Linked DNA regions of Homo sapiens: regions 1, 2, 3, 5 and 6 are each linked to region 4. Evidence: promoter capture Hi-C in 16 types of primary human blood cells and fetal thymus (Javierre and others, 2016). All regions are on one chromosome and are shown on one strand. The core of a region is centred on a gene start or on the middle of the fragment in contact, and the rest is flanking DNA. Distances in the headings are between cores, read along the strand shown. Region 1 has its middle 40 kb from the start of SLFN5. Region 2 overlaps SLFN5 (schlafen family member 5). Region 3 has its middle 16 kb from the start of SLFN5. Region 4 holds the start of SLFN13 (schlafen family member 13). Region 5 has its middle 63 kb from the start of SLFN11. Region 6 has its middle 13 kb from the start of SLC35G3.

What was found. Contacts are between HindIII fragments. The CHiCAGO score rates a contact against its expected background, and 5 or more counts as called.
Region 1: a fragment that was not itself captured here is called in contact with the fragment with the promoter of SLFN13 in region 4 in 5 of 17 cell types (non-activated CD4 T cells, naive CD8 T cells, naive CD4 T cells and 2 more); the score reaches 8.3 in non-activated CD4 T cells.
Region 2: a contact is called between a fragment that was not itself captured here and the fragment with the promoter of SLFN13 in region 4, in 5 of 17 cell types (total CD8 T cells, total CD4 T cells, activated CD4 T cells and 2 more). The highest score is 10.3, in total CD8 T cells.
Region 3: a contact is called between a fragment that was not itself captured here and the fragment with the promoter of SLFN13 in region 4, in 3 of 17 cell types (naive CD8 T cells, total CD8 T cells and activated CD4 T cells). The highest score is 6.9, in naive CD8 T cells.
Region 5: a contact is called between a fragment that was not itself captured here and the fragment with the promoter of SLFN13 in region 4, in 9 of 17 cell types (total CD4 T cells, activated CD4 T cells, total CD8 T cells and 6 more). The highest score is 7.9, in total CD4 T cells.
Region 6: a fragment that was not itself captured here is called in contact with the fragment with the promoter of SLFN13 in region 4 in 5 of 17 cell types (non-activated CD4 T cells, activated CD4 T cells, naive CD4 T cells and 2 more); the score reaches 5.7 in non-activated CD4 T cells.

Annotation. Positions count from the first base shown.
Region 1 is chr17:35,280,537-35,284,932 of GRCh38, reverse strand. No RefSeq gene overlaps it. Among named protein-coding and RNA genes, the nearest start is that of SLFN5, 40 kb to the right of the region's middle. The HindIII fragment of the contact is 2,291 bases long and covers 166-2,456 here.
Region 2 is chr17:35,257,719-35,262,333 of GRCh38, reverse strand. It overlaps SLFN5 (schlafen family member 5), which reads right to left. Exons shown (of 5, transcript NM_144975.4): 2 at 2,632-3,683; 3 at 1,238-1,363. The coding sequence starts at 3,643. Among named protein-coding and RNA genes, the nearest start is that of SLFN5, 17 kb to the right of the region's middle. RefSeq lists an enhancer at 4,422-4,615. The HindIII fragment of the contact is 4,399 bases long and covers 1-4,192 here.
Region 3 is chr17:35,224,462-35,229,082 of GRCh38, reverse strand. No RefSeq gene overlaps it. Among named protein-coding and RNA genes, the nearest start is that of SLFN5, 16 kb to the left of the region's middle. The HindIII fragment of the contact is 1,350 bases long and covers 1,524-2,873 here.
Region 4 is chr17:35,447,516-35,450,702 of GRCh38, reverse strand. It overlaps SLFN13 (schlafen family member 13), which reads left to right and starts at 1,937. Exons shown (of 6, transcript NM_144682.6): 1 at 1,937-1,981. RefSeq lists enhancers at 622-1,121, 1,022-1,231, 1,122-1,623, 2,502-2,661 and a silencer at 1,852-1,931. The HindIII fragment of the contact is 16,320 bases long and covers 1-3,187 here.
Region 5 is chr17:35,308,038-35,312,508 of GRCh38, reverse strand. No RefSeq gene overlaps it. Among named protein-coding and RNA genes, the nearest start is that of SLFN11, 63 kb to the left of the region's middle. RefSeq lists an enhancer at 321-822. The HindIII fragment of the contact is 3,855 bases long and covers 670-4,471 here.
Region 6 is chr17:35,205,436-35,210,261 of GRCh38, reverse strand. No RefSeq gene overlaps it. Among named protein-coding and RNA genes, the nearest start is that of SLC35G3, 13 kb to the right of the region's middle. The HindIII fragment of the contact is 4,854 bases long and covers 1-4,130 here.

The DNA.
Region 1 (4,396 bases), core at 62-2,561, 170 kb after region 4:
GTGGTTTCTAAGTCCGTGGTGATGGCTATCATTTCACCCAAAATACACAAACGTGTATACCCACTTAGATGACTTCCCTTCATCATTGTCTTGCAGTGTTATCCCTGAGTGGAGCTGGAGAGTAAAAGCCATCCACTCTTGTTGAGACCTATGGATCATGAAGCTTCATTTGCAAACCAAGCCCACACCTTTTTGTCCTCCTTTAGCTGGTCATGTGCCCCAAGAGGTCATTGCTGTAAGTGGAGAGAAAGGCAGTGAAGCAGTGGACATTGATCCTATGCAAGTCTGAGCCACCTGCTGTTACAGCTTATTAATTTCTTGCAGACCTATGAGGCCCCAGTCTTACATATATGAGTTCCATTTTATGATGAATTCTGCTGTGTATGATTTAGTGGAAGAGATGACCCCTTTGGATTTGATAAGAGCTCAGGTCACACAGATATTTGTCAGATATTCAGTCTCAACAGGGTCCCACGGGAAGTGAGATACTGATTTCATATGGACAGTACTTGTTGGCAGAAGAGGGCATAGCCTTCCTCCAAAACTCTAGGGATTCTGTTATTGGGGATTTTGGTAGATCTCTGACTTCTGCAGAGTCTCCCACTATCATTAGGTCTGCTGGGTCATTGTGTGCAAATAGTGGGACATGTACACCACAACTTGGACCTGCTAGAGAGAACTTTCCTTCTCTAGCAGTCTTACTGCTTGGCAGAAAATGGATTAGCCTGTCCAAAATCCAGATAAACCAAGCAAGCATGGAGCTTCGTAGGTTATTCTTTCTTTTAGAGATGTTGTTTCAACCTGTCCCAAGGTACCAAACTCCAGAAACACCACTGATGTGACAGGCTCTGGAACCTGTGAAGTTTGTCACCTACCCTCTGGCAGGCATGTATCCAAGGCACACTTGATATACTTCCTCATCAGGTCCAATTAGCATTATGTCATCCCTATGGGATAGCAAAATAATCAAGAGTTGTCCTGATTACATCATGACAGCATGCATTTGAATTGAGGTAGTCATGAAGCAAGATGGCAAACTATCCTCTTGCCCCACCACTTAGATCAAACTGCTTCTCATTTCCTTGTCTTGTAGAAATTGTGTGGGGGAGCAGAGAAGCCAGCAATAGCTGCAAACCAGGTGCCAGGGACTGTATTAACTTGCTCCAGTAAAGATACTGCAACCCAGAAGAGCAGGTGATATTGGCATCACAGCCTGTTTGTGAAAATCACTGGCGTTCTCCATGTCCATCTGCTTTTTCACCAGTCAAAGAGATGGGTCAAGTGAGGATGTGATAGGAATCACTACTTCCGCACCTATTAGGTTGTTGACGGTAGGATTAATCTCTGAAACTCCCCTCAGGAATGTGTGATTGCTATTTTTTTTGAAACAGAGTCTGGCTCTGTTTCCCTGGCTGGAGTACAGTGGTGCCATCTCGGCTTACTGCAGCCTCTGCCTCCCAGGTTCAAGCAATAGACTACAGGCATGCACCACCATGCCCGTCTAAGTTTTTGTGTGTTTTAGTAGAGATGGGATTATTGCCACATTGCCCAGGCTAGTCGCAAACTCCTGAGCTCAGACAATCTGCCCACCTCAGCCTCTCAAAATGTTAGGGTTACATGAGACACCACGCCCGGCCAAGATTGCTATTTTGATGTGGGTGAAGAGTACAATTCTAGGGGCTTCTACTTGGCCCTTCCTAACATAATAACTCTCACTTTTTGGATCTGGAAACTGATGTGGGAATTCTGGCAGTTTCCAATCCTATGTCTACTATACGTTGTCCAGACTCGAGAAATAACCAAAGGACCAGTGATTATCTGGCTCCTTGGGCCCTCCCTCTGCCTGCTGGACCAATGTGGCACTTCAGTCTCTGCCAGAATCAGAGCCAGAATCATTCAGAGCCAGAATCTAGGAATCCCTCGATAGTTCCATTTCCCCAGTACAGAGTCACCCTATTAAATGTCTGCAGGTCCCTCTGATGAAGGACTGAGGGAAGAGTCATAGAATGTGTCTGCAGCCATGTAACAGGATTTTTCTCAAAGGTCTCTTTCCCAAAGAGTTGTAGGATTTTGGATTAGTTTATATTTGGAAACTGGATAAGGGGTTTTGATTCCCCACCATGACAACTAAAGATAGGGTTATGCCCAGTATATCTGGGATTTTTCTGCCTATGTATGTCAAGCCACATTTTAGTAGACTGCCCATCTATTTAATTTGTAAGGATGCCATGATCATCACTATGGATCCCTCCTGGTCAAAACACTCAGATTACCACTCCAATCCTACGGTTTATTGGGATAATATGTCCATCTTGTCTCGGCTGTTCAATAACGACTGCAACCTGGCTTCTACCACTGCAGGATTCCACTACTTCCGTTTAGATAAGGGAAGCCAGTTCCAGTGCTGCATACCCCACTGTCATTTCTGGCCTATAGAGAACAGCCACCAAAAAGCTTCACAAGGTTACCAGTGCCCACGGCTAGTGAAGCACCCTGGCACAAGATATTAAAGGAGGCATTCACTTTCAGGCTCATGCATTCAGGATCAGTACCGGAGGGTGGGTGCCCGGTTAAATGTTGTATCCTGGGTGTCTTCTTGCCTCCCCCCTCACTCCAGCACTGCTAGTACCTTCCTCTCCAATGCATGTCTTAATTCCTTGGTGATAGGTGCATCCCCTGGGCTTGCTCGGGGATTCTGGCTAGGGGGGTAGTGTCGAAGCGTGTTGCACATAGTAGCTCCATTTCAATATTCTCACATCCCTGAGTCTTTGAGCTCCTTCTAGAACAATGCCTCTCAAACTGTAACATATAATGTGCATATGAAGCACATGGAAATATTGCTAAAATTCTGATTCAGAAGGTCTAGGATGGGGCCCGAGATTCTACATTTTTAAATAGCTCCCAGTGATGCTGCTACAGCAACTCCACATGACACATTTTGAGCAGCAAGTTTCTACCAAATGCCACGTAAGTCAGGGAATCTCAAACTCATTAACTGTAGACCAACATTGAGTCAAGGCATCAGCAAGCCAAAATCAGTTGGCCAAATCTAGCAGAGTATCAACTACTCCCAAGCCAACACATTCAATCCCTATTGAGCGTCAATGCTTTCAGCTAGATCAAGCCTTTATTTCATTCTCCTTCATCTACATCTTTAGTATGCATTCCCATACTTGCCTCCCAGGTCCTGCCAATACACACAAATGAGATCTGGAACATTTTTGTGTACAAGCTCCCTCTTCAAGAACAGGCCTTTATTTCTGCATCTGGACTATGTTGAGATCTAACTCTTTTTTTTATATATACTTTAAGTTTTAGGGTACATGTGCATAACGTGCAGGTTTGTTACATATGTATACGTGTGCCATGTTGGTGTGCTGCACCCATTAACTTGTCATTTAACATTAGGTATATCTCCTAATGCTCTCCCTCCCCCCTCCCCCCACCGTACAACAGGCCCTGGTGTGTGATGTTCCCCTTCCTGTGTCCATGTATTCTCATTGTTCAATTCCCACCTGTGAGTGAGAACATGCAGTGTTTGGTTTTTTGTCCTTGCGATAGTTTGCTGAGAATGATGGTTTCCAGCTTCATCCATGTCCCTACAAAGCACATGAACTCATCCTTTTTAATGGCTGCATCGTGTACCATGGTGTATATGTGCCACATTTTCTTAATCTATCATTGTTGGACATTTGGGTTGGTTCCAAGTCTTTGCTATTGTGAATAGTGCTGCAATAAACATATGTGTGCATGTGTCTTTATAGCAGCATGATTTATAGTCCTTTGGGTATATACCCAGTAATGGGATGGCTGGGTCAAATGGTATTTCTAGTTCTAGATCCCTGAGGAATCGCCACACTGACTTCCACAATGGTTGAACTAGTTTACAGTCCCACCAACAGTGTGAAAGTGTTCCTATTTCTCCACATCCCCTCCAGCACCTGTTGTTTCCTGACTTTTTAATGATCGCCATTCTAACTGGTGTGAGATGATATCTCATTGTGGTTTTGATTTGCATTTCTCTGATGGCCAGTGATGATGAGCATTTTTTCATGTGTCTTTTGGCTGCATAAATGCCTTCTTTTGAGAAGTGTCTGTTCATATCCTTCGCCCACTTGTTGATGGGGTTGTTTGTTTTTGTCTTGTAAATTTGTATGAGTTCATTGTAGATTCTGGATATTAGCCCTTCGTCAGTTGAGTAGATTGCAAAAATTTTCTCCCATTCTGTAGGTTGCCTGTTCACTCTGATGGTAGTTTCTTTTGCTGTGCAGAAGCTCTTTAGTTTAATTAGATCCCATTTGTCAGTTTTGGCTTTTGCTGCCATTGCTTTTGGTGTTTTAGACATGAAGTCCTTGCCCATGCCTATGTCCTGAATGGTATTGCCTAGGTTTTCTTC
Region 2 (4,615 bases), core at 744-3,243, 190 kb after region 4:
ATCTTGGCTCACTGCAACCTCCGCCTCCAGGGTTCAAGCGATTCTCCTGTCTCAGCCTCCCGAGGAGCTGGGACCACAGGCGCATGCCACCACACCCAGCTAATTTTTTGTATTTTTAGTAGAGACAGGGTTTCACTGTGTTAGCCAGGATGGTCTCGATCTCTTGACCTTGTGATCCGCCTGCATTGGCCTCCCAAAGCTCTGGGATTACAGGCCTGAGCCACTGTGCCTGGCCACTACTTGGAATTTATCCTTAAAGAACACCTCAGGTATATTATGGTAAAATGTATATTATAGCATTGTTTAAAAATGAAAAAATTAGACGTCATATAAAAGTCCATCAAAAAAATGATTGGGCTGGGCGCAGTGGCTCATGCCTGTAATCCCAGCACTTTGGGAGGCCGAGGTGGGTGTATTACCTGACGTCAGAAGTTTAAGACCAGCCTGGCCAACATGGTGAAACCCTGTCTCTACTGAAAATGCAAAAAAAATTAGCTGGGTGTGGTGGCATGCGCCTCTAATTCCAGCTACCTGAGAGGCTGAGGCAGAAGAACTGCTTGAACCCGGGAGGTGAAGGTTGCAATGAGCCAAAGTTTCACCGTTGCACTCCAGCCTGGGCAACAAGAGCGAAACTTCATCTCAAAAAAAAAAAAAAAAAGACTGGTGGCTTGGCGTGGTGGCTCATGCCTGTAATCCCAGCACTTTGGGAAGCTCAGGTGGAAGGATCGCTTGAGTCCAGGAGCTTGAAACCAACCTGGGCAACACAGGGAGACTCCATCTCTACAAAAGTTAAAAAATTAGCCTGGCATAGTAGAGTGCTGCTACTTTGTAGAGATGGGGTCTTGCTATGTTGCCCAGGCTGGTCTCAAATTCCTGGACTTAAGCAATTCCACACCTCACCCTCCCAAAGTGCTGGGATTACAGGTATGAGCCACTGTGCCCAGTCTTTTCACTTTCTTTAAGGTATATTTTGAGGAACAGTTCTTAATTTTAATGTAGTAAAATTTATCAGTCTTTTTAAGTTTGATCCTTTTGTGTCTGGTTTAGGAAATGCTTTCCTACCCCAATGATACAATTATTCATATACACTTTCTACTAAAAGTTTTAAAGGTTTGGCTTTCATATTTAAGTCCTTAAACCTCTGGAATTGATTCTGTATATAATATAAAGTAGGAGTCAATTTTTTATATGAATGAACAATCAACATATTCCAAAGCAACCAGAGATGGCCAATTACCTGGAAAGTAGCGTTTCTGCTGCTCTTTCAGACATTCCGAATTCTTATGAATGCACACAGGCTTGCTGCGGGGCGTGGCAGATGACAAACTCAACTGGAGAACCATCTCAGGACACCTGGAAAGGTCTTAGGAAACAAGAACCAAGGATTCAATATGCAAAAAGGCAGACCCCAACTTATAGCTGAGCTGTGCTACAAAGTCTTTCACCTAGTCTTACAACTCAAGCCACGGCCCACAGATACTTGCCTTTACATCTCAGGTCAGCTCAGGAAAGCCTACTGAGGTTTTTGAAGGAAAAAATAACCTAGCATAAAGCAACACTTTTTAATTTTATTATGTCAAAACAAAACTATTTTTATTTCTATTATTTATTTATTTATTTATTGAAACAGTCTCACTCTGTTGCCCAGGCTGGAGTGCAGTGGCATGATCTCACCTCACTGCAACCTCCGTCTCTCAGGTTCAAGCAATCCTCCTGAGCAGCTGGGATTACAGGCGTGCGTCACCACATCCAGCTAATTTTTTGTATTTTTGGTAGAGACGGAGTTTCACCATGTTGGCCAGGCTGGTCTCAAACTCCTGACCTCAGGTGATCTGCCCCCCTCGGCCTCCCAAAGTGCTGGAGTTACAGGCATGAGCCACCGTGCCCAGACTGTTTTTATATTTTTAGAATGCTACTTTTTAAAGAAAAATGATGAGAAGATGCAAAGGCCAATGGATATAGACACCTGAGCAGATTCTGAGGTGGACTTTGTTTTTTCTGGACCTTTGAAGAAGTTACTATTGGTTTTCTCTGTCTAATTTTATCTCAGGCTTTCCTTTTCCAGGATAGATGCATGTCACCAACCATCCTCTGGCTTATCACGTACCGGCTCCCCAAAGGAAAAATGGGAAAGCAGAGCGAAAGCCGTGATTTGGTCATATTTTGGTTCAAAAAATGGAAGTGGGCAGTGAGAAAGGGTGAATATTTAAGAAGGGAAAGTCAGAGGAAAGTGGCAGTAAATTAAAGTGGACACATCTGTACATGTGAAAAAAAGAAATTTCCTAAATAATTAAATGCAAGCTCATAATTGAAAAATAAGAGGCTTGACTATGAACATAAGAAAGGATGTGAAAATTGAAATAACTAGGTCAAACAGCCCCCTGCACCAGCCTTTAATGGGGCTACTAGCCAGGGCATCTGTTGAATGAAGACTATTTAAGATGGCAGAAGAAAGGAAGGGCAATAATCCACGAACTACATCTACAGGGATTAATAAGTCAGACAATTGCAAATCAGAGAGTAAATCTCTTTCCCCAGATTCCAAGGAATACCATATCCCTCTTTCCTCTCTGACCCGCCCTGCCTTGCTGCCAGCAAACATTACAACCATTGTGGATATTGCTCCCTAACCTGGGTCAGCTTCCATCATCCAAGCAGTCCATTCTCTTGTGGGCAATTGTCTCACACGGTTGTCCTTCACCTGCCAGGAACTAGGCACTTTGGCAAACACCGCACAGCAGAATTTCTCCACCTTGATTGCACAGACATATCCACGGAGGGCCCCCTTATCATGCACTTCAAGGAAGTTAAGGACATATTTTATCTCAGGCCTCTGTGTGCAGAAATGATGGACAGGTAGCTTCTTAATACAGCCATCAATAGAAGCCCTCAAGCTCGTAAGGTCTATTTTCTCTTTTTCACATCCAATCACTTGACAAGTCTCATCATGCACACCAAAAAATACATATCCTCCTTCAGTATTTGCAAATGCAGAAACACACTTCGGAAGTCTGTCTTTAACACAGTGTGACACGTCTGTCGAGAACATTACAAATTCAACATGTGTGGACTCAGGAAGGTTGAGTTTTTCCAGATACTGAAGCCGCTTTCTATCAAATAAAGCAGCAGCTGACACATTTATGTTACCTTCATATTGTACACTACCCTGAGCTGCCTGTGGACCTAATGAATTGGAAACATTAATATTCGTTGGAGTCTGAGTCCTGCATTTGAGGAATGCCAGAGCTTCCTGAGAATCCATGACATCGGTGGATGTTCTCTCTCTGTGGTACAAATTGGAGCATAAGGTAGCAAGTGGCACACCAGCCTCTGTGTTCCATGATTTCACAAAAATCAAAAAGTGGTTTTCCTTCTGCATCTTATCTAAATGGCTTCTGAAAATTGGAGGCACATCCAATCCTACTCCATGACGTTCATAATTGTAGCCTTTGTTCTCAATCTCAGCCTTGATTATGCCCCCACCAGAATTCAGCAGAGCACATACTGCTCGCAGGATGATTTCATTCTGTTTCTCCCGCAGGCGAGGGTCCATCTCCTGCCTCTGCTGAGTCCCAAGGGTGACTTTTCCTGCATCTACAACACACTCAGGAAAGTTTGTATCCACATCAATCCTAAGACTCATCTTCTCAGCACTTGGCCTATTCCTATCCTGAAATGTTCTCCTGAAAAACAGAAAGATAGAACCATTAGAACAGGACAAGAATAGGAGAGGCAGGAAAACCAACAGATTAAGGCCATCCTACTGAGGTTGGTCCCTTCATTTATTCCTGATATGATTTGACTGTGTCCCCACCCAAATCTCATCTTGAATTGTAGCTCCCATAATTCCCACATGTTGTAGGAGGAAGCCGGTGGGAGATAATTGAGTCATGGGGGGCAGTTTCCCCCATTTTGTTCTCATGGTAGTGAATAAGTCTCACGAGGTCTGATGGTTTCATAAAGGGTTTCCCCTTTCACTTGGCTTTCATTTCTATCTTGCCTGCCTCCATGTAAGACGTGCCTTTCACCGTCCACCGTGATTGTCAGGACTCCCCAGCCATGTGGAACTGTGAGTCCATTAAACCTCTTTTTCTTTATAAATTAGTCTCAGGTATGTCTTTAACAGCAGTGTGAAAATGGATGAATGAAATTCCCACATAGCTTGAGGTCAGATTTATACATGAATTAAGCTTGTAAGGTGAGTTGAGGAGCTGAGTCTGCTGGAAGCACACCACCACCACAGAAATGACCAACAGGTTATATTTATGCTGTGTATTTAGTAACTATCTGCCAAGTTCTCAAAGTGGCAGAGTCTCGCAGGTCACCTGCAGAAAATAGAAAATTTTACATTGATATTTGTGGACTGGAGCTGGAAAGCAATGAGAAAGCTTTCGTGGTCAGAAGTATCTCTGGGGTGTGCTAATATTTATTGTTTTTCTTGATTCTTTGTCTTTCTCCTCTCCCTGAGACTTGGGCAATTTTCAGATTATTTTGTAGCCTAATATTGGGAGGGGACACATCTGATTGAGTTGGCAACCTGTCATTGTTGCTATGGAACAGATACATAGCAACGACGTCAGCTTCCCCTAATCCAAACGGTTTCCATCTTGTCAAA
Region 3 (4,621 bases), core at 949-3,448, 220 kb after region 4:
CCCCATCTCAAAAAATAATAAGAAGAAAATAAAATTTTGGCTAGATTTCCTTCCTTTTTTTCTGGGAGGGTTTTGAGCTTTCTTATGTTAGATTATTATGTACTTGATAGCCTCTTGAAGCTACTGAAAATAGGAGATCTATACAGTTTAAGGAACTATATGGGCTTTACTTTCTATTACATCTGAAGGTGTATTATCTCATCTAATTTGAAAGGTGCTTCTTTCCCTTGTCACCCTTCATATGTTCATATGAATCCTCCAGGAACACATAGACTCTAGACATACATTGTTTCAATCAAAAAGGTTGAAGCCTCTTTTGGGGCCGGTTTAAGAATCTTCACATTCTAATTTCTATTGTACTTTAACAGGCTCAAGCCTTACAAAGAAAGAAAGTTTGCTCATCTCTTACCACAATAAAAATCTAACTTGATCCACTCTCAAGCTTAGAAAGCTTTATTTCAGAAGACAGAATTGCAATAGTTCTATCTCTAATTTAAGTGAGAGCAGGGTCTGGGCACAGCGGCTCACACCTGTAATCCCAGTACTTTGGAGGTCGAGGCAGGCAGATTGCTTGAGGCCAAGAGTTCAAGACCAGCCTGGGCAACATGGCAAAACCCTGTCTCCACAAAAATTTAGCCAGGCATAGTAGTGTGCACCTGTGGTCCCAGCTACTTGGGAGGCCGAGGTGACAGAATCACTTGAACCTGAGAGGCGGAGGTTGTAGGGAGCCGAGATTCTGCCACTGTACTCCAGCCTGGGTGACAGAGTGAGACCCTGTCTCAAAAAAAAAGAAAAAAAAATTAAGTGAGAGCAGCTTCCACCTATCCTATGGACCCAGGACAAAGTGACATCTGTCAAAAGCCATAAGACAACAGACAAAAACAAAAATCAATGTTTTAATTTTCCAGTGACCCTGATTTTAAGCAAAACTAATTATTTAGCAACAGAGTTCAAAGCTGGCCAGCACTAGACAGCAGTGACAGGTAACCCTCCTACCTCCCCACCCCAGCATCGCTATTTTTACTTATTCAGATTTAGGCTTCAATTGGAGTTACCACCTGTATTCATTTCCTAAGCCTACCATAACAACATACCATAAAATCGGTGGCCTAAAACAGCAGAAATTTATTTTCTTTGTTCTGGAAGCTAGAAGTCTGAAATCAAGTTGTCAGTAGGGCTCTTCTCCCTGAGACTCTCAGTAGAATCCTCTCTTACCTCTGCCCAGTGGTGGCCATCAATCCTCCATGTTCCTTGGCTTGCAGCTGTGTCACTCCGATCTCTGCCACCATCACTATGTGGCCTTCTCCCTGTGTGTGTCTCTCTTCACACCATCTCCCTTCTTATAAAGACATGAGTCATATTGGATTAAGAGCTTACTCTACTCCAATGTGACCTCATCTTAACTAATTACTTCTACAGTAACCCTGTTTCTTTTATTTTCCTTTTTTTTTTTTTTTGAGATGGAGTCTTGCTCTGTCACCCAGGCTGGAGTGCAGTGGCGTGATCTAGGCTCACTGCAAGCTTTGCCTCCCAGGTTCACGCCATTCTCCTGCCTCAGCCTCCCAAGTAGCTGGGACTACAGGTGCCTGCCACCACGCCCGGCTAATTTTTTGTATTTTTCGTAGAGACAGGGTTTCACCGTGTTAGCCATGATGGTCTCGATCTCCCGACCTCGTGATCTGCCTTCCTCGGCCTCCCAAAGTGCTGGGATTACAGGCGTGAGCTACGCGCCCGGCCTACAGTGACCCTATTTCTAAGTAAGGTCACATTCTGGGGTACTAAGTGTTAGGATTCAACATATCTTTTGGGAGAGCACAGTTTAAACCCTAATATCGTCCTTCTCAGTTTTCTTGAATCATTTATTTCATGTTCTCACATTTGTAGGTTTTATTTCCATGCATATTAACAAATGGGAAATATCAACTGTCATCTTCTGGGTTAATAAATGCATGGCCGGGCACAGTGGCTCACGCCTATAATCTCAGCACTTTGGGAGGCTGAGGTGGGCGGATCACCTGAGGTCAAGAGTTCAAGACCAGCCTGACCAACATGGTGAAACCTCATCTCTACTAAAAAATACAAAAATTAGCCAGCCGTGGTGGTGGGCACCTGTAATCCCAGCTACTCGGGAGGCTGAGGCAAGGAGAATTGCTTGAATCCCGGAGGCAGAAGTTGCAGTGAGCCGAGATCACACCACTGCACTCCAGCCTGGGCAACAGAGCGAGACTCCATCTCAAAAAAAAAAAGAAAGAAAGAAATAGAAAGAAATACACAAATATTTATACCTTTATTTTAAAAAGGAGGCTATGTCAATTTAAATATTATTACCTGAGCAAAAAAATCATTACATAAACAACCAAGCAAAATTCGACTTTTTTGGAAGTTACTTTCCCAAAATACAATAACTCATAAATCTGAGTGTCGTATCAAACTAATTTGATAGGAGCTAATGGCAAATACAGTTTGGTGACATGGAAAAGCATCTCATTCTCTGCAGGTGCAAGAAAAAGGAAACTGTCTGTTGTTTCTTGCTTGCTTGCTTGCTTGTCTTGCTGAGTTTTCTTTCACCAGAAGTAGAAGAGTTTAGAGTTTCCAGGCTAAATACTGGAATTTCAATAATTAGCACTCAAAGAGAAACAAAAAGTAGTCTTTCAAATAAAGGCCTACTCAGAACTTCAAATAACTTCAAAATTTCAAAAAATAATATAAGAAAGAAGCAGAATAGTCTTATGTTAAAATGGATTATAAAACATGATATTTGCTACTTATATTTGTCATCCAAATGTTTTATGGTTAATATCAACTTTATCAATTTTTTACTAATTTTGTATTCACTGATAAGTACTTCCACTAGCAATATTAAGAATCAAGCTTTTCAGTTAGAGAAATAATCACATGGCTCACCAAGTAATAAGTAGAAAGGAATTATAATTATGAGTTGAGAAAAGGGTTAAAATTCAATGTAAGTTTTGTAAAGTAATGCAGGAAATAAATTTATAACTTTCAGTATGAATTTGTCTGTAAAACAAAAATTAAAATATTAAGCCTTCTAGGGCTCCTTTGAGGAGTATATGTCATGGTATATACGAAATACCTGGCATATAGTATGTGCTCAATAAACATTAACTTCATTCCGCCCCGTCCTTCATTCAGTGTAATTGAACCTTAAACAGTTGCCTGAAAAGTTCCCATTAATTGGGGATGAAGAAACCCACCCAGGAATTAAGTGCTCATTTCATCCCCTGTATGTGGAAGTGACAAGGCACACAGCACCCTAATTGGTATGGAACTCCACGCTGCCCAAGAACGAGTGTCCCTTAGACCCTGAGCTAACCAGCTGGTGGCAAGGCCCTTGCTTCACACACCCACAGGGTACTCAGTAGCTCCACTGGTAACAAAATTTCCCCAAGTGTCATGGAGGCGCAAGATGCTTAACTGACATGAGACTAAATCTGGTCTTTATGGTTTGAATTTCATTTTAATAATTATTTGTTTTGAAGAATACAAATGTAAAGATCATTTCTATCTTCATGTGAGTCTCAAATTATAATCTTGATTCTATAATAAAAATTTTTAGTTTTCAACTGGCATATTCAACTGGAAATGGGAGTTACCCATTTCCTCTATAATTTCAAATTGACTTTCATATATTAAAACCCATGAGTTCACAATGATACTTGTTTTTAAAAACTTCATGGTTAACCTTCATAAATTCACGCTAGGACATCAGCGCATTGTTTTGAAAACTGATGAAGGGAAGCAATCAAGCCTTTGTACTCCTTTCCTGTATGCATTCTATTTTGGGGCCAAGAAAGAGATGGTAAGGAAAGTCCTTCACAGAAATATTCCCGGTAATAAATTCAGATGGAATTATGGAGTTAGAAAAATCATCATTTTGCAAGACCTAATGAAATCATGGATCTAGGTAACAATCGTCAACTGATGCTGAAACTACCAGGATGGTGGTTTTCAACCTCACCTGCCCCCAAGAGCTGTTACAAGCCTCAGTGTGTAGGCTGCACTCCAGACCAAGTGAATCAGAACGTCTGGGGCGATTGTAATGCTCCCCAGGTGATTCCAGTGTGCAGCCAAGATTGAGGATCACTCACTAGATGAAAGATGCATGGGGAAGTTTATAACAGACAGATCAGACTGAAGAAGGGTGCATGGGGAAGTTTAGAACAGATGGATCAAACTGAAAACACTTCAACCTACACACCGATTCTAACGTTGGTATGAGTGGGACAGCCAGACACTGTGTAAATTAGCACAATGTCTAATACACAGCCCTACCTAGGAGGTGTTCTAGCAAAAGGCTTCTCTCTTACCCCTCAACCCCTTACACACATAATTGAACCTACATGTAGTCAGTCCTTGGGTCTAATTTTCCAGTTTAGATGAAACACAGGCATAGAAGAAGTTAAATGGCACCATGAAGAAGTAATTAGCTGACTCATGAATGTGAGAGATTCAACGGGATAAGTGAATTGGATTTTTCCACAAATAACTGAGGAGGAAAGGCAGAGGGCTAATGTTATAAGTTAAAAGAGACTTAAATTACCTATCAACTAAATGCAATGTGTGAGCCATTTTTGGTAGCTGATTTTTAAAATATGAATTC
Region 4 (3,187 bases), core at 688-3,187:
GAAGAACTTTGTTAGGCCGGGCGCAGTGGCTCATGCCTGTAATCCTAGCACTTTGGGAGGTCGAGGCGGGTGGATCACCTGAGGTCAGGAGTTTGAGATCAGCCTGGCCAACATGGTGAATCCCCCGTCTCTACTAAAAATGCAAAAATTAGCAGGGCCTGGTAGCGGGCGCCTGTAATCCTAGCTACTCGGGAGGCTGAGGAAGGAGAATCGCTTGAACCTGGGAGGCGGAGGTTGCAGTGAGCTGAGATCGCGCCATTGCACTCCAGCCTGGGCAACAAGAGCGAGACTCCATCTGAGAAACAAACAAACAAACAAACAAAAAACAAAAAAACACGTTAATAGTTTTTGTAAAGATCTGCTGGTGACAAATTTCCTAAGATTTTTTTTTTTTTTTTGGTCTGAATACGTCGTTATTTTGCCTCCATTTTGGAGGACTTGTTTTGTTTTGTTTTTGGTGGTTATAGAATTCTAGATTGACAGCCTTTTTTTTTTTTCCAGCGCTTTACAGATGTATAGTTCTGGATTCAGTACAGGTTTGCACAATCTATAAACCGCATTTTAAAGAAAAATGAAAAAACTGGAATATGATTATATGAAGATTTACTGAAATGGAAAGGTGGAAGTCATTGAAAAAAGCAGATTAAGAAGAGTACATACAGTGTGACTTTGTATTAATAAAAAAGTATTACATATATGTTTGTGTAATATATATGTATGATCCGTAAAGATATGTACAATAGGGTGTTAATAGTGGTCAGTGGTAATCTCTGGGGCGAAGGGGGGGTGGTATTGGAGTACGTTTTATTTTCTCACTTTAGCCTCCACTGGAGCGTATATTAATCACCCCGGTGTTAACCGCCGCTCCCACCCTTGGGCCAGTCCGCGTCAGTGAGAACTTGGCCGATGCGCGGTGCTTGGTCAACCCCGGTAACCGTCACACTGCTCGTGTTACAAGAAAACCAGCCAGGGTTCTGCTTTTCTGCTCTGCCGCAGCCTTTAACACCTGCCAGGGTTCTGTCCGAGTGTATGGGTTTCGTAGTCCTCCTCTCCAAGGCGTTGACTGAGCACAGAGCACCGGCCGCCGCCACATCCCACTCTGGCGCGGGGTCTGCGGAGCCACAAATCCAGCCAGGAACCGAGTGCCGCCCGATCCGAGCATCCGTCGCATTTTGACCTGGGGTTCCCGGGTCTCAAGGCCCACTTTCTGGGGCAGGCAGTGGGGAGAGAAGCCCAAGCTGGGGTATGGGCAGTTGCAGTGCGGTGGAAGGGGAAAGCTCGGGCGAGAGCTTGGCTGGACCCTCAGAGGAGGGGTCCGGGGAAGGCGGGACCGCAGGCTCCGGGAAAGGAGAGAGAGATAGGGACGGAGGAGGGGCGGAGGGGGAGTAAGAAAGAACTAAGAACCACTCGAAAGCAATCAGAAAACTTGGCGTTTCCAGACATTTTTTTTTTTTTTTGTAGGGGGAACAGGCTCTCACTCTGTCGCCCAAGCTGGAGTGCAGTGGTGCGATCTCGACTCACTTTACCCTGGACTTCCTCGGGCTCAAGTGATCCTCCAGCCTCAGCCTCCCGGGCATCTGAGACTACATTTGAGTCTACAGGCGCGCGCCACTAAGCCTGAGTAATTTTGTTGTTGTTGTTGTTGTTGTTGTTGTTGTACAGACGGGGGTCCCACTGTGCTGTCCAGGCTGGTCTCGAACTTCTTGGCTCAAGCGATGAACCCGCTTAGGCCTCCCAAAGTGCTGGGATTTCATAGGCGCGAGCCTCCCGCCAGGCCTTCTAGACAGCGTGGCAAAGTGTTCCCGGGCTTTGTAGACACTCCCATTGGCGCGTCCATGCCCTGCCTGGGACCCATTGGTTCGTTCATCCCCTGTGTGGGACCTGCCCAGGTAGGCGCCAACCATTGGTTATAAGAACCTGACCTTGGCGCCTCCAGGGAAACGCGGAGTGTCCTGGAGCTTGACGCGCTGGAGCTTGAGAGGTAAGAGAGGGTCCCTGCTCCTACGGGGACTGCGGAGCTCCCGTTTGTACCCACGCCCTAGGGTCTAGTCCGGCACGACCCTGGACTGGCGTTGACTCGGATGGGGAGCAAGCTAGGAGAGCAACCCCCGCCCCCCAGCTCCGGCCAGCCGGTGGAGTCGGGGTATTTGCGTGCTTCTCCCCTGCCTTTGGGGTTCGGCTAGTTTGCTGAGCAAATTCCCTAAAAGGCTATGAGGACTTGATCGCGGCGCGGGTGGAGGCGGGGCGGTGGGGAGGGACGGTGCGGAGAGCTAAAGGGGTTGGAAGGTGTCGCCGGCGGCTTGGCGGGCTATCTGTGTTCCTGTTCCGGCTGCAAAACAGAAAGCCCCTGCCCAGCGAGCAGCGGTTTCCGCGGGGGCGGAACAAACAGGCAGAGCCAAGTGCGTCCTGGAGGCTTCCCCCGTTGCGAAGGTTGGGACTCTTGTTTCAGGGTTCTTGGCATTGACTCACTAACCACTGTAAATTATTGTTCTTAATCTAAGAGTTAAAAAGCAGAATTAGGCCGGGTGTGGTGGCTCATGCCTGTAGCTTCAGCACTTTGAAAGGCCAAGTGGGAGGATTACTTGAGCCCAGGATTTCGAGACCAGCCTGGGCAATGTAGGGAGACCCTATCGCTATGAATAATAATAATAATAATAATATAATACTAATATTAATAAATTAACCGGGCCTGGTGGCGCGCACCTGTGGTTCCAGCTTCTCCGGAGGCTGAGGCAAAAATCGCCTGAGCCTGTGATGGCGCCACTGCCCTCCAGCCTGGACAACACAGGAAGACATTGTATCAAAACAAAAACAAAACAAAACAAAACAAAACAACAAAACAGAATTAGAATTGCCATTACCCTGTACCCATTATCCTGATTACCCTGCAATCTAGAAAGGGGAGAAATGAGAAAAATGTCTCCCTCCCAACGTCTGTAAAATACAGAGCTGCTATCTGAGAAGGACAAAGAGCTCTGTGTTTTATTTTCCCAAGAGGGAGCCTCTGTCGCAGCTGTTTCCTTCTGTTTCTGCCTGAGACTAGCCAGTCCCCACCAGTTTTCCTCAGTGGGGTGGGGGGCTTGGGAGTGGATGGGAGGATTTGTGTTGTTCTGATTTTACCTACAGTATACCTGTGTAGGAGGCGAAACTGTTTCCATCAATTTCCACAGAGAAGCAAGGGCAAGAA
Region 5 (4,471 bases), core at 1,348-3,847, 140 kb after region 4:
GGCTGAAAATCGACGCAAGGAAACTACTAAAGCAATCCAGAAAATGAAGGAAGAGATAAGCATCTTTTTAAAACTTATCAGATCTTCAGAAATTGAAAAACTCACTTACAGAATTTCAAAATACTATTGAAATCTCTATCAACAGACTAGATCAAGCACAAGGAAGAATTTCAGAGCATGAAGACCAATATTTCTAACTAACTCAGTCACACAGAAATAAAGAATTGTTTAAAAATGAGTAAAATTTTTTAGAAACATAGGATTATGTTAAGCAACCAAATCTACAAAAGATTGGAATTCCTGAGAGAAGAAGAAAAAGTAAACAGCTGGAAAACTTATTTGAAGGAATAATTCAAAAATGTTTTCCTAATCTTGTTAGAGAGGTAGACATCCAAACACAATAAACCTGGAGAACACCTGCAAGATACTATACAAGACAAATGTCACCAAGGCACATAGTCACCAGAGTATCCAAAGTCAATACTAAAGAAAAAATGTTAAACGACACCTAGAGAAAAATGTCAGATCACTTACAAGGGAACCCCATTAGGCTAACAATGGACTTCTCAGCAGAAACCTTACAAATGAGAAGAGATTGAGTACTTATTTTCAGTATTCTCAAATAAAAGGAAGTCCAACCAGGAATTTGATGTCTTCCCAAACTAAGCTTCATAAACAAAGAAGAAATAAAATATTTTCCAGGCAAGCAATTGTTAAAGGACCTTATTTTTTACCACTAGACTAGCATTACGAGATATCCTAAGAGAGTTTTAAATATGGAAATGAAAGAATGATGCCTGCTACCACAAAAGCACACTTAAGTATTATACATAGTTCACAGACCTTATAAAGCAACTACACAAATCGGGACTACAAAGAAACCAGCTAACAACATCACAACAGGATTAAAAACCTCACATATAAATATTAACGTTGAATGTAAATGGTCTAAATGTTCCACTTAAAAGGCACAGAGTGGAAATTGGACAAAGAGGAGCTAGAGAAAGAGATAGGGGTAAAAAGTTTATTCAAAGGGATAATAACAGAGAACATCCCAAACCCAGAGAAAGAAATCAATATCCAATTACAAGAAGGTTATAGAACACAAAGCAGATTTAACCTAAAGAAGACTACTTCAAGGCACGTAATAATCAAATTTCCAAAGCTCAAGGTTAAAGAAAAGCTCCCAAAAGCAGCAAAAGAAAAGAAAAAAATAATATGCAATGGAATCCCAATAAGTGTGGCAGCAGACATTTCAACCTTACAGGCCAGGAGAGAGCTGGCATGACATATTTAAAGTGCTGAAGGAAAAAAACACCCACCCTAGAATAGTATATCAGGTGAAAAATCCTTCAAACATGAAGGAGAAATAAGACTTTCCGAGACATACAGAAACAGGGATTTCATAAACGCCAGACCAGTCCTACAAGAGATGTGAAAGGCAGTACTTCAATCAGAAATAAAGACATTAATGAATGAGAAAAAATAATCTGAAGGTACAAATCTCATTGGCAATAGAAAGTACACAGAAAAACACAGAATAGTATAGCACTGTAACTGTGCCGTGTAAACTACTCTTATCTTAAATAGAAAGATTAAATGATAAACAAATATAGTAAAAACCAACTTTTCAAGACATAGTCAGTACAATAAGATGAATAAAAACAACAAAAAGTTAATTTTTTTTGAGACAGGGTCTTGCTCTTTCACCCAGGCTGGAGTGCACCGGTGTGATCTTGGCTCACTGAAACCTCTGTTTCTCAGGCTCAAGTGATCCTCCCACCTCAGCCTCCTGACTAGCTGGGACTACAGGCATGCACCACCATACCTGAGTGGTTTTTCTATTTTAAATAGAGATGAGGTTTTGCCATGTTGCCCAGGCTGGTCTCAAACTCCTGGGCTCAAGCAATCTGCCCATCTAGGCCTCTGAAAGTTCTGGAATTATAAACATGAGCCACTGCACCTGGCCAAAAGTTTTGTCTTGTAATCTATTTTGTCTGACACAAGTATAGCTACTCCTGCTCTTTTTTGGTTTCCATTAGCATAGAATATCTTTTTCCATCCCTTTATTTTCGGCCTATGTGTATCTGTATGGGTGAAACATGTTTCTTATAGGCAACAGATCATTGAGTCTTGCTTTTTATTTATTTATTTATTTATTATATATTTATTTATTTTATTATACTTTAAGTTCTGGGATACATGTGCAGAATGTGGAGTTTTGTTACATAGGTATACATGTGCCATGGTGGTTTGCTGCACCCATCAACCCATCACCTACATTAGGTACTTCTACTAATGCTATCCCTCCCCTATGCCCCCACCCCCTGACAGGCCCTGGTGTGTGATGTTCCCCTCCCTGTGTCCATGTGTTTTCATTGTTCAGCTTCCACTATGAGTGAGAACATGTGGTGTTTGGTTTTCTGTTCTTGTGTTAGTTTGCTGAGAATGATGGTTTCCAGCTTCATCCATGTCCCTACAAAGGACATGAACTCTTCATTTTTTATGGCTGCATAGTATTCCATGGTGTATATGTGCCACATTTTCTTTATCCAATCTATCATTGATGGGCATTTGGGTTGGTTCCAGGTCTTTGCTATTGTGAATAATGCTGCAATAAACATACGAGTGCATGTGTCTTTATAGTAGAATGATTTATAATCCTTTGGGTATATACCCAGTAATGGGATTGCTGGGTCAAATGGTATTTCTGGTTCTAGATCCTTGAGGAATCGCCACACTGTCCTCCACAATGGTTGAACTAATTTATGCTCCCACCAACAGTGTAAAAGCGCTCCTATTTCTCCACATCCTCTCCAGCATCTGTTGTTTCCTGGCTTTTTAATGATTGCCATTCTAACCAGCATGAGATGGTATCTCATTGTGGTTTTGATTTGCATTTCTCTAATGCCCAGTGCTGAGCTTTTTTTTCATACATTTGTTGGCTACATAAATGTCTTCTTTTGAGAAGTGTCTGTTCATATCTTTCGCCCATTTTTTGATGGGTTTTTTTTTCTTGTACATTTGTTTCAGTTCCTTGTAGAGTCTGTATATCAACCCTTTGTCAGACGGATAGATTGCAAAAATTTTCTCCCATTCTGTAGGTTGCCTGTTACTCTGACAATAATTTCTCTTGCTGTGCAGAAGCTCTTTAGTTTAATTAGATCTCATTTGTCAATTTTCGCTTTTGTTGCCATTGCTTTTGGTGTTTTAGTCATGAAGTCTTTGCCCATGCCTATGTCCTGAATGGTATTGCCTAGGTTTTCTTCTAGGGTTTTTATGGTTTTAGGTTTTATATTTAAGTCTTTAATCCATCTTGAGTTAATTTTTGCATAAGGTGTAAGGAAGGAGTGCAGATTCAGGTTTCTGCATATGGCTAGCCAGTTTTCCCAACACCAGTTATTAAAGAGGGAATCATTTCCCCATTGCTTGTTTTATCAGGTTGGTCAAAGATCAGATGGATGTAGATGTGTAACGTTATTTCTGAGGCATCTGTTCTGTTTCATTTGTCTATATATCTGTTTTGTCACCAGTACAATGCTGTTTTCATTACTGTACCTTTATAGTGTAGTTTGAAGTCAGGTAGTGTGATGCCTCCAGCTTTGTTCTTTTTGCTTAGGATTGTCTTAGCTATATGGGCTCTCTTTTGGTTCAATATGAAATTTAAAGTAGTTTTTTCTAATTCTATGAGGAAAGTCAATGGTAGCTTGATGGGGATAGCATTGAATCTATGAATTACTTTGGGCAGTATGGCTATTTTTATGATATTGAATCTTCCTATCCATGAGCATGGAATGTTTTTCCATTTGTTTGTGTCCTCTCATTTCCTTGAGCAGTGGTTTGTAGTTCTCATTGAAGAGGTCCTTCACATCCCTTGTAAGTTGTATTCTTAGGTATTTTATTCTTGTTGTAGTGATTGTGAATGGGAGTTCATATGATTTGGCTCTCTGTTTGTCTATTATTAGTGTATAGGAATGTTTGTGATCTTTGCACATTGATTTTGTATCCTGAGACTTTGCTGAAATTGTTTATCAGCTTAAGGAGATTTAGGGTTGAGACCATGGGGTTTTCTAAATATACAATCATGTCATCTGCAAACAGAGAGAGTTTGACTTCCTCTCTTCCTATTTGAATATGCTTTATTTCTTTTTCTTGCCTGATTGTCCTGGCCAGACTTCCAATACTATGTTGAATAGGAGTAGTGAGACAGGGCATCTTTTTCTTGTGCTGGTTTTCAAAGGGAATTCTTCCAGTTTTTGCCCATTCAGTATGATATTGGCTGTGGGTTTGTGATAAATAGCTCTTATTATTTTGAGATATGTTTTATCAGTCCTAGTTTATTGAGAGTTTTTAGCATGAAGGGGTGTTGAATTTTATTGAAGACCTTTTCTGCATTTATGGAGATAATCATGTGTTTTTTGTCATTGGTTCTGTTTATGTGATGAATTATGATTATTGATTTGTGTTTATT
Region 6 (4,826 bases), core at 454-2,953, 240 kb after region 4:
GTAGCTGGGACTACAGACATGTGCCACCACACCCAGCTAACATTTTTAAAGTACTCTTTGTAGAGACGGGGGTCTTGCCATGTTGCCCAGCCTGGTCTCAAACTACTGGCCTCAAGCAATCCTCCTGCCTTGGCCTCCCAAACTGCTGGGATTACTGGCATGAGCCACCACACCTGGCTTAATTTGCTTTAAAAAAAAATTCGATAGGGGTACAAGTGGTTTTTGGCTACATGGATGAATTATATGATAATAATGTCTGGGCTTTTAGTGCGACCATCACCTGAATAGTGTACATTGTACTCAGTAGGTGATTTTTAAATTCCACATTCCCCTCTCAACTTTCCCACCTTCTGAGGCTTCAGTGTCCATTATACCAATCTACATACCTTTGCGTACCCATAGCTTAGCTCCCACTTACAAGTAAGAACATGCAGTATTTGATTTTCTGTTCCTGAGTTACTTCGCTTAGGATAATGACCTCTGGTTCTATGCAAGTTGCTGCAAAATACATTATTTTCCTCTTTTTATGGCTGCATAGTATTCCATGGTGTGTATTTGTGTGTGTATGTGTGTGCGTGTATATACACAGCACATTTTCTTTATCCACTCATCAGTTGATGGATGCAGTGTGGTTTTAATATTAGCCATTCTGATAGGTCTATGGTGACATCTCATTATAATTTTATTTTGCATTTCCCTGATGACTAGTAAGATGACTGAGTTTCATATATTTATTGGCTCCTTTTATAAGGTGTCTGTCTGTACAAGTAGTTTGCTTTTCTTTTCTTTTTTTTTTTTTTTTGAGACAGGATCTCCCTTTGTTGCCCAGGCTGGAGCACAGTGGTGCAAATCTGGCTCACTGCAGTCTCAACCTCCTGAAATCAAGCAATTTTCCTGCCTCAGCCTCCTGTGTAGCTGGGAAACACAGGCACATGCCACCGTGCCTGGCTAATTTTTTTATTTTTTGTAGAGATGGAGTCTCAATTTGTTGACCAGGCTAGGACAAGTTCTTTATTGATTAAATGTTTAGCAATCTTTTTCCACTCTGTGGCTGACTTTATTACTGTCTTAATAGTGTCTTCTCATGAATTGAAGTCTTAATAGTGTCTTCTCATGAATTGAAGCTCCTATTTAATAAAGTTGTCCAATTTATCAACATTTTTGTTTATGGTTAGTGTTTCTATGTCTCATTTAAGAAATACCTGCCTACTCCAACTCATGAAGATAGTCTCTAGTGTTATCTTCTAGAATATTTCCTTTTTATTTTTTTAAACTCTCTAGCCCTATGTCATAAGAATATTTCTGGTTTTACTTTTCACATTTAGATCTCTAATCCACCTGATGTTTGAGTGTGTTGTGGGGGAGGGGTTAAGTTTAATTTTTTTCCATATGGATAGCTAGTTGACCCAATATCATTTGTTGAAAAGTGCACCCCTTCCCCTCTGTTCTGTAGTGTGATCTTCGTCATAAGTCAAGTGTACCTATATGTGTCGGTCTATTTCTGAATTCTCTCTTCTGTTTCATTGGTCTATTTTCCTATTCTTTTGCTGACATCACACCATCTTAATAACTATGACCTTATATTGATACTCACTGTTAGTCTTCCAACTTATTCTTGTTTTCTTTTCTTTTTAATTAAAAAAAAATTGTGGAAATGGAGATTCACTACGTTTCTCAGGCTGGTCTCGAACTCCTGGCCTCAGGCAATACCTCCTGCCTCAGCCTCCCAAAGTGTTGGGATTACAAGCGTGAGCCACCATGCCTGGCCAAACTTTATTCTCCTCCAAGATGGTCATTGCTATTCTTGACTCTTTGGCTTTTCATAAATATTTTACAAATAATTTATCAATCTCTGTCCCACCAAAAGCCTCAAAGTTGTATTGGGCTTTCATGGAATCTATATATCACTTTGGGGAGAATTTATAGCTTTATAATGTTGTCATCCAATCCAGGAATTTGGTAATATCTCTCTATTTATATGAGTTTTCTTTTATTTTTGTAAATAATATTTTATAGTTAGGATTCTTAAACATCTTTCACAATTTATCTCTAGGCATTGATGTTTTATGATATTATAATGGCACCATCTTTAAAAACTCAACTTCCTAACTGTTATAGGTATGTAGAAACACAATTGATTTTTGTAAATGGACTTTGTATCTAAATTCACTTATTGGTTCTAATAGTTTGTAGCTGTCAGATTTTTTACATGTACAATCCTGTCATGTGAACAATTAAAAAGTTTTATTTCTAAGTTTTCAATTTTATGCTTTTCTTTTTTTCTTCTTTTTTTATTGTAAATTGACAATTTATAATTGTATAGATTGATGGGTTCTGTGAAGAGGGAGTTGCGTGGGGAAAAAATTTATGGGGTACAAAATGATGTTACGATTTATGAATGCAATGTGAAATAATTAAATCAAACTAGTTAACATTTCCATCACCTCAAATACTTAACTTTTTTTGTGGCAAGAACATTTGAAATTTACTTAGCAATTTTGAAACGTACAACACTCTACTATTAACTATATTCACCATGCTGTGCAATAGAATGCACAAAAAGAAAAATCATGTTCTGCCTGTCTGAAATACCCTTTGACCATCACCTCCCCATTTCCCCATCTTCCAGCTTCTGTCACCACCATTCTACTCTCCACTTCTATAAGTTCATTGTTTTAAATTCCACATATAACGGAGAACATGTGGTATTTGTCTTTCTGGGCCTGACTTATTTCACTTAGCATAATGTTCTTCAATTCCATCAATGCTGTCACAAATTTCAGAATTTCCTTCTCTCTCTCTCTCTCTCTTTTGAGATGGAGTCTCACTCACTCCGTCACCCGGGCTGGAGTGCAGTGGCGTGATCTCTGTTCACCGAAACCTCTGCCTCCCAGGTTCAAGCCATTCCCCTGCCTCAGCCTCCCAAGTAGCTGGGATTGCAGGCATATGCCACCACACCCAGCTAATTTTTGTATTTTTAGTAGAGACAGGGTTTCACCGTGTTGTTCAGGCTGGTCTCAAACTCCTGACCTCAAGTGCTCCACCCACCAAAAGTGTTGGACTTACAGGTGTGAGCCATTGTACCCAGCCAGAATTTCCTTCTTTTTAAAGGCTGAATAGTATTCCATTGTATATATGCACTACATTTTTTTAAAATCCATTTGTCTGTTGATGGGCAGAGGTTGATTCCATTACTTGGATGTTGTGCATAGTATTGCAATGAACATAGGAGTGCAGATATCCCTTCAACAAACTGATTTTGAGTCTTTTGCATTAATACCCTGAAGAGGGACTTCTAAATCATATGATAATTCTATTTTTAGTTTGGTTTTTTTTTATTTTTTGGGCGGAGGGATCTCCATACTGTTTTCCATAATGGCTGCACCGATTTACATTTCCACCAACAGTGTACAAATGTTTCCTTTGCTCTACATCCTCACCAACACTTATCTTTTGTTTTTTCATTTGAAAACACTCTGTTTTGAAATAAAGTACAGGATGATTAAAAACATAATAATAAGCATTCTGACAGGTGAAAGATTATATCTCATTGTGGTTTTAATTTGCATTTCTCTAATGATTAGTGATGCTGAGCATTTTTTCATTATCTGTTGGCTATTTGCATGTCTTCTTTTGAGAAATGTTTTTATCACTGGAATGCAAGGATCAATAAATGTGACATGCCACAGTAACAGAATGAAAGACAAAAACCATATAATCATTTATTAGATGCCAAAAATCATTCAATAAAATTTAATATCCTTTTATGATAAAAACTCTCTCTTATCTTCCATTCCCTAGGCAGAGAGTCAGAGCAAGAGAGAGCAAGAGAGAGAGAGAAAGATGACAAAAAAAAAGTTCACCAAATTAGATGTAGAAAGCATATATCTCTTTGAGGATAACCCTGAGTGCAAATTTTTTAAAAAGAAATGTAACTCAGCACAATAAAAGTCATTTATGAGAAGCCCACAGCTAACATTACACTCAAGGCCCTTCGTGTAAGATCTGCAACAAGACAAGGATTTCTACTGTTTTAGTCTGTTTGTGTTGCTCAACAAAATACCTGAGCCCAGGTAATTTATAAAGCAATGAGGTTTATTTGGCTTATGTTTCTGCAGGCTGTACAAGCTTCTGGTAAGGGCCTCAGGAAGCTTCCACACATGGTGGAAGATGAAGGGGAGCCAGAATGTGCAGATTACATGGTGAGAGAGTGGAAGCAAGAGAGAGGGGCAGGAGGGGCCAGGATCTTTTCAACAATCAGCTCATGGATGAGCACAGTGGCTCATGCCTGTAATCCCAGCACTTTGGGAGCACAAGATGGGAGGATCACTTCAGCCCAAGAATTTAATTAAGACCAACCAGCCTGGGCAAAAAAGTGAGACTCCATCTCTACAAAAAATCAAAAAATTAACCAGTCACGGTGGTGTGTGCCTGTGGTCCAAACTACATGGGAGACTGAGGTGGGAGGATTGCTTGAGCCCAGGAGGTCAAGACTGCAGTGAGTTATGCTCATGCCACTGCACTCCAGCCTCGGCAACAGAATGAGACACTGTCTTAAAAAAAAGAAAAGTGAATTTATAAACAAAATTTTAAAAAATCAGCTCTTGTAAAAACTAAGAGTGAGAACTGACTCATTATTGCAAAGATAACACTAACCTATTCATAAGGGATCTGTCCCATTATCCAAACACCTCCCACCAGGCCCCACCTTTAACAATGGGAATCAAATTATAAAATGAGACTTGGTAGTCAAACAAATCATATCAAACCATAGCACCTACTCTCCCACTTCTGTTCAACATGGGATTGAAGTTCTTTCTAGAGCA